2 separate regions of the Homo sapiens genome follow, and region 1 is linked to region 2. Evidence: promoter capture Hi-C in human tissues and cell types (Jung and others, 2019). All regions are on one chromosome and are shown on one strand. Each heading gives the region's core, a stretch centred on a gene start or on the middle of the fragment in contact. The rest is flanking DNA. Distances are from core to core; before and after follow the strand shown.

Evidence for each region. Contacts are between HindIII fragments. The study calls those that stand out against the background at their distance.
Region 1: a fragment that was not itself captured here is called in contact with the fragment with the promoter of DNAH5 in region 2 in 1 of the 25 tissues and cell types used here (lymphoblastoid cells).

What each region holds. Positions count from the first base shown.
Region 1 is chr5:13,244,229-13,247,576 of GRCh38, reverse strand. No RefSeq gene overlaps it. Among named protein-coding and RNA genes, the nearest start is that of LINC02220, 210 kb to the right of the region's middle. The HindIII fragment of the contact is 4,832 bases long and covers 1-3,348 here.
Region 2 is chr5:13,942,654-13,946,408 of GRCh38, reverse strand. DNAH5 (dynein axonemal heavy chain 5) reads left to right here and starts at 1,721. Exons shown (of 79, transcript NM_001369.3): 1 at 1,721-2,027. The coding sequence starts at 1,971. The HindIII fragment of the contact is 17,200 bases long and covers 1-3,755 here.

The sequences.
Region 1 (3,348 bases), core at 376-2,875, 700 kb after region 2:
CTTAAGAAAGCATGCAGGTCTGGGCTCTCCACAATTCCTTCAGAGAGGCAGAAACTAGAGAAAAATATTCCTCCTTAAAGCTTAAATCTTTTGGTTAATCATATATATATTTTTTACTGTGGAGCATAGGCAATGATAATGATGGCCCTTCCAGTAGCATAAAGATAATATGATATTAAATTAGCAATAACTCTTTTTTTTTTTTAAGACACAGTCTTGCTCCAGCCAAGGCTGGAGTAGAGTGGCACAATCACAGCTCACTGCAGCCTTGGTCTCCCAGGCTCAAGTGATTCTCCCACCTCAGCCTCCCAAGTAGCTGGGAACGTAATAGCACATGCTATTACACCTGGCTATTTTTTTTTAAATTTTTTACATAAATGTTGCCCAGGCTGGTTTCAAAATTCTGAGCTGAAGCAGTCCTCCTGCCTTGGCCTCCCCAAGTGCTGGGATTACAGGCATGAGCCACCAAGCCTAGCCAACTCTCCTTTTTTTCTGTCTCAACAGTACCTTTTCTTATAAAGAAAGAAAGAGAAAATCGTGCCCTCCTATAACCACACTTCTGTTTGTCTTACATCCTATTTCTGCCCATCTTTCCTCCCCCTCAAAAAGATTTACAATAGATTTGGTATTACTGTGTATGAAGCCAATAAAAGTAGTGTTGAATATTGTGACTTCATTCTAACATGTGCACTTGATGGTGAGAGGAAGATAGAGAGGAGATGAGTGCACTGCAAAACAAACAAACCAAATCTCTGCCACGTATCTAAAAGTCCCAGAGGTTAAGGGTTGGCATTGTCATCTCCACAGAGAAGTAGAATACATTATAATCTCTAGTCTTACTGTCAGTATGTTTAAGCAGGAAAATGCATTATGGGTAATCACCTTGTGGCTGTGTAATACACATCAATGAGTAAAATAACCCTAAAGGAAATTGAGCGGTTATAAAATCAGAATAAACGCCCAGTACTTTGTCCAGTGATCTGAACATCAGGTCTGTGAACACGGAGAATGGCAGCGTGCATAGTCTAAAGAGAATTGGAATAAAATTTGAACACTAACAGTATTAGTATTTTAGTCACAAATGATATGCAGAAAAGACTGGTTTCAAAAGGTACACTTACGGGCTTTAGAGAGCTCCTACTGTGAGCCCCATTGGTAAGGTCTTCCTTTCAAATGCCATCCTAGCCTTTGATTGTCAACTTCGCTTTGACTCCGAGCCACATCAGGCTGTAAAAGCATAAAGGTTAGCTTTCCATTGCAGGAGTGTGCAAAGAAGTACAAGAGCAAAGTCGCAATCGTAAAAGGAAAGAACGCCAATATGTCATGGGATTGCAGAAACTTGAAGGCATGAAATTAATCAGAGAGCCCTTTTCTCCCTCTCATCCTTAAAGACTGCAACAAATAAGAGACAAAGGCAGGACTGCCCTTGCTTTCCCTTACTGCTTGCCCTGTGTGATCACTGCAGTCAGAATTCCTCAAATGCCACAGAGAAAAGGTTAAGGAGGCCTCTAAAAATGCAAAATAGCTCTCACCCTGGAGGTATTCTATGGTGAAATGCTGGAAATCAAAGCATGAAGAAGTTAATATTAAAAAATATTTTCAGGAGAAGGCAAGAGAAAAATTGTTAGATATTTTCTCTTTTTAATCAAGAGTACTATAATTCAGTTATAGAATTCTAAATTGCACAGTTTTGGGGATTTAGGGCTTGTTCTCTGAGGAATCAGTAGTACTGTGTCCGGAATTGGTGGGTTCTTGGTCTCACTGACTTCAAGAATGAAGCCGCGGACCCTCGCAGTGAGTGTGACAGTTCTTAAAGGCAGTATGTCCAGAGTTTGTTCCTTCTGATGTTTGGATGTGTTCCAAGTTTCTTCCTTCTGGTGGGTTCGTGGTCTTGCTGGCTTCACGAGTGAAGCTGCAGACCTTAGCAGTGAGTGTTACAGCTCTTAAGGTGGCACATCTGGAGTTGTTCGTTCCTCCCGTCTGGAGTTGTTCATTCCTCCCAGTGGGTTCGTGGTCTCGCTGGCCTCAGGAGTGAAGCTGCAGACCTTCACAGTGACTGTTACAGCTCATAAAGGCAGTGGGGACCCAAAGAGTGAGCAGCAGCAAGATTTATTGCAAAGAGTGAAACAACAAAGCTTCCACACTGTGGAAGGGGACCCGAGCAGGTTGCCACTGCTGGCTCAGGCAGCCTGCTTTTGTTCCCTTATCTGGCCCCACCCACATCCTGCTGATTGGTCTATTTTACAGAGAGCTGATTGGTCTGTTTTACAGAGAGCTGTTTGGTCTATTTTGACAGGGTGCTGGTTGGCGCATTTACAATCCCTGAGCTAGACACAAAAGTTCTCCAAGTCCGCACAGAGCACTGATTGGTGCATTTACAAACCTTGAGCTAGACACAGAGTTTTGATTGGTGTATTTACAATCCCTTAGCTAGACATAAAGGTTTTCCAAGTCCCCACCAGATTAGCTAGGTACAGAGTGCTGATTGGTGCATTTACAAACCTTGAGCCAGAGACAGAGTGCTGATTGGTGTATTTACAATCCCTGAGCTAGACACAAAAGTTCTCCAAGTCCACACAGAGCACTGATTGGTGCATTTACAAACCTTGAGCTAGACACACAGTGCTGATTGGTGTATTTACAATCCCTTAGCTAGGCATAAAGGTTCTCCAAGTCCCCATCAGATTAGCTAGATACAGTGTGCTGATTGGTGCATTTACAAACCTTGAGCCAGACGCAGAGTGCTGATTGGTGTATTTGCAATCCCTTAGCTAGACATAAAGGTTCTCCAAGTTGCCACTAGATTAGCTAGACACAGAGCACTGATTGGTGCATTTACAAACCTTGAGCTAGACACAGAGTGCTGATTGGTGTATTTACAATCCCTTAGCTAGACATAAAGGTTCTCCAAGTCCCCACTAGACTCCGGAGCCCAGCTCACTTCACCTAGTGGATCCCACGCTGGGGCTGCAGGCGGAGCTGCCTGCCAGTCCTGTGCCGTGCGCCCGCACTCCTCAGCCCTTGGGCGGTTGATGGGACCAGGCGCCTCAGAGCAGAGGGTGGCGCTTGTCGGGGAGGCTTGGGCTGTGCAGGAGCCCATGGCTGGGGGAGGCTTGGGCATGGCGGGCTGCAGGTCCTAAGCCCTGCCCCACAGGGAGGTAGCTGAGGCCCTGTGAGAATTTGAGCGCAGCGGTGGCAGGCCGGCACTGCTGGGGGACCAGGCACACCCTCCGCAGCTGCTGGTCTGGGTGCTAAGTCCCTCACTGCCTGGGGCTGGTGGCGCCAGCCGGCCGCTCCAGGTGCGCGGCCCACTGAGCCCAGCCCACTCGGAACTCATGCTGGCCCAGC
Region 2 (3,755 bases), core at 472-2,971:
ATACCTTAAGACGCCATCTACCTTGCCCGAGGGGTTGAAATTCAGCCACACAGACTGGAAGGCTTCCCGGTTTGCTGTGAAGCCTCAAGGGAGTCATGGTTATGCCTGCCAAACACAAAATGCATGCCATCAGCCATCTGTGGAAATCTTCCCAGGAAGTAACTCTCCCCAAGCGATGCGTTGTAAATGGGCTGCTGCTGCAATGAGGATGGTGCCTAAAATACCATTAGGGAAGCACCGATTCAAATGTAACTAATGAAAGATAATCGGCGATGTAATGAATTGTAACATGTTTGTCCTGAGGTCATGTGTTGACAGAGGATTCTTGGGATGGATAGGAGATGCCATGTGAGGAGGATCCGATCCTACTGCTATTTTCTGGTGTCTTCAGCACCACACAGAGAAGGGACTCAGAGTCTAGATACTGTCTTCAACACTTTTTATTAGAAACGGACAACAGCCGCTTACCAACAACCAGAGGTTGACTTCAACAAATATCCTGCAGGGCCTGGCCTGGTGGCTCATGCGTATAATCCCAGCACTTTGGGAGGCCGAGGTGGGCAATTGCTTGAGGCCAGGAGTTTGAGACCAGCCTGGGCAATGTGGCCAAACCTGTTTCTACAAAAAATACAAAAATTAGCCGCGTGTTGTGACACTTGCCTGTAGTCCCAGTTACTAGGAAGGCTGAGGTGGGAGGATCACCTGAGCCTGGGAGGTTGAGGCTGTGGTGAGTGGTGGTCACGCAACTGCACTCCAGCCTGTGTGACAGAGTGAGACCTGCAGGTCTCAAAAAAGAAAAAAAAAATCCTGCAAACAAACTTAAACTTCCTGTGTTCTAGTTATTTACTTACCAAATAATATTGAGGTCTAAATGTTGTCTGTTAACCTGACATATGGAGGCCGTCCGTGCCCTAGCATTGGATATGGACCAAGTGAATCTCCATGTTCTGAAACCATGTCAGCACCCTGCCTTCCAAGTCAGGCTCCACAGAGGTTGACTAGCAGGATGTTACCAGGATGAGTTCCCAATTTCCTGATTATCCTTGGATGACCTTTTAGGATTTGAGTTGCTGGACTGTGAATTCCAAGGACTAAATTCTAGATTCAACAAGACCAACCTTAAGTGTCCTGCCTTTTATTCAACTCGATGGGAGAAACCATACATGAGAGATCTCTCAAAGCATTTGGCAGTGTTTTCCCATTACATCTTCACAGTTAAGATGATCAAGATGTTTAGCCACATAGGATAAATTACCTTGGCTGAAGTGTATGTGCAACTGTGTGAGCACAAGTAATTTATGGACATGGTTTGCTATTTGCATATGAAACAGACTTCTTGTTCTTTGTGGTGGAGAAAATGGCTCCTATGGGTCACAATTAGCCTATCTGGCAATTAGTCACAATTAGTCACAATGCTGGCAGTGCATCGTGCTTGCAAAGTTGTTTACACAAAGTAAGACTGAGTTTCTCGACATGGACAATATATTCAGAGCTGTGGCTTCTTGGATTTCTAATCTGATATGGTTTAAAGTTTCTCATTGTTCAAAGAAACTATTTAGATATCACTGTTGACTCAATGCTTATTATTGGGCAGTGAATAGAATTAATTGAACAACAGAAGGAGTTGTGTTGCTACCGAGCAGTTAAAATGCTTTGATTGCTTGATAAACATGATTAAGAGGCATGGTTCAACTGTATAGTGTATAAACAATATTACCCTAACAACACCAGGCTTCGAGAGAGAGGAGAGGCCCAGGGCAGACACTCTAGGAGAAAAACTTGAGTGGTATAAGTGGAGTTTTAATTTTTATTCTGTGAATGTAGTGAATAATACATGCAAATTAGAAACGTGAAAGTAAAATGGAAGTAAAACTTTCCATTTGGAAGCCTGTTGGATGTTGAGCAGGTCTGCCAGGAGTTAGAAGACCATTCCGGAAGAGCTGACTCCAGCCTGTCCATGCACGGCTACAATGTTTAGGATTGGGAGGAGACAGCTCTGGAAGCATAGCGTCACTCGAGTTTTAACGGTAAGGTGCTGTTGTCTGTACCTTTGCATGTGTGTTTTGGATTATCATCTGTCACACCTGGGTGGAAAAAACAAACTTGAAAAAGGTTCAAAGTCACACACTGATGAATTTGCGAGAAACACATTTTTTAACTAATGTTCACCTGGTGCATAGGCTACATATTCATTTTTTAAATAAAAAAAATTTTGCATCTGTAGGCTTTTCTGCACGTTGCCGCTTAAACTACGCACCTAGAAATTCATGCTGCATCTTTTGGGAAGATGCTTTCCTGGGGTCAAAAACACATTCATAGTGGTTTGGGCACTTTGTATTCTTTCAAACCTGTAAACTTTAGTTGGTGATTAGAAATAGTTAAGGCAGATTCTAGGCTGCAAGGTTTAGGCTTTGAAATCACTCCCCTGTTCTATATGCCTGCAAATGAGGTCACAGACAGTGAGATGCAAGGCTGTGCCTTTGGAAATCACATTGAAGAATGAACTTCCCTAGCACAGGGCTCAGCTCAGCAGCTTTTTATTATGCAAATGCATAGAGAGGGATTTGGAAACCTCTTCCACTGCCAATTAACGTCAGAAGAAATTGGAGGTTTCTCTAGGACTCAGTTCTCAACCATTAACCCATGCTTCCTACTGGGCTTGATCACTGTGTCTTTTTGTGTATCCCCAGAAGCTCACATGATCCCCCCTAGCCTGTTGTTTTTACCACAAAAGAGCAGGCATCTACCTCTGAATTTTTTAAGTATGCCACCATCTGCCACCCCTCACTTGCCCAAGCCACAAGATTCTGATGCATCCTTCCCAAGGTGAACGTCTTGCAGCCAAGCCCCTGAACTTGCTTGCTAGAGTTAGAAGACCATTCTGGAAGAGCTGACTCCAGCCAGTCCATGCACTGCTTATTCTTCAAGACCAAGTGCTAGTGTTACCTCCTCTGAGAAGCGTCCCCTGACACTTTGAGGAGGAGGTGTGAGTTTCCTTCCTGTACCCTGTCAGCACTTTCCTTCGATGTCTTATAGAGTCCTTGTCACATCACTGTAGTGAAATGACATTTACCCACATGTCTCTTTCTCTTGCTAGATTGCGAGTTCTCTCCATTTTAAAATAATCTTCCTTTAACACAGAGCTTGGTCCATAGTATATGCTTGGTCCTTAATATATGCTTGTGGAATAAGTTGAATGAATTAAACATTTCACATGTCTGAACATTTTTCCTGTGCTTCAGTACCAAGTCTGAAACACCACAATTGATGATAAAATCTCAGGTATAATTAATGAATTATTCTTCCTTGACATGAACTATGTTTTGAGAGTAAGTCAAGTCTTTTGGAGGTTTCAATTATATATTTAGGATGCTGGTTTGGTTCACTCCACTGAAGTATAATATTAACAGAATTACCTTAATAGTATTGCAGTGTATTATGTAAATAATTACACAGTTTCTACTTAGTGCACTGTGTTAAAGAAAAAAAATTATTCAGTGACACTTGGTAAAGCATGGTAAAGTAAGACTTTATTCACGACCGTCGTGTTAGGTATAAGGACCTATCTGGGGAGTGATGGGAGAGATTGGGCTCAACTGTGAATATGGCATGGCCAAGTGAGGATTTGTAGCCAAGGAGCAGGGCAGGGGTCAGTGGATAGGAAAGTGCTTAGAGGAGACATCAATGGGGAGGGGGATTCTGGCTAAACTGACGACCTACCAGGATTCTTGCTGAAGAAAGGCCAGGGGGATGAG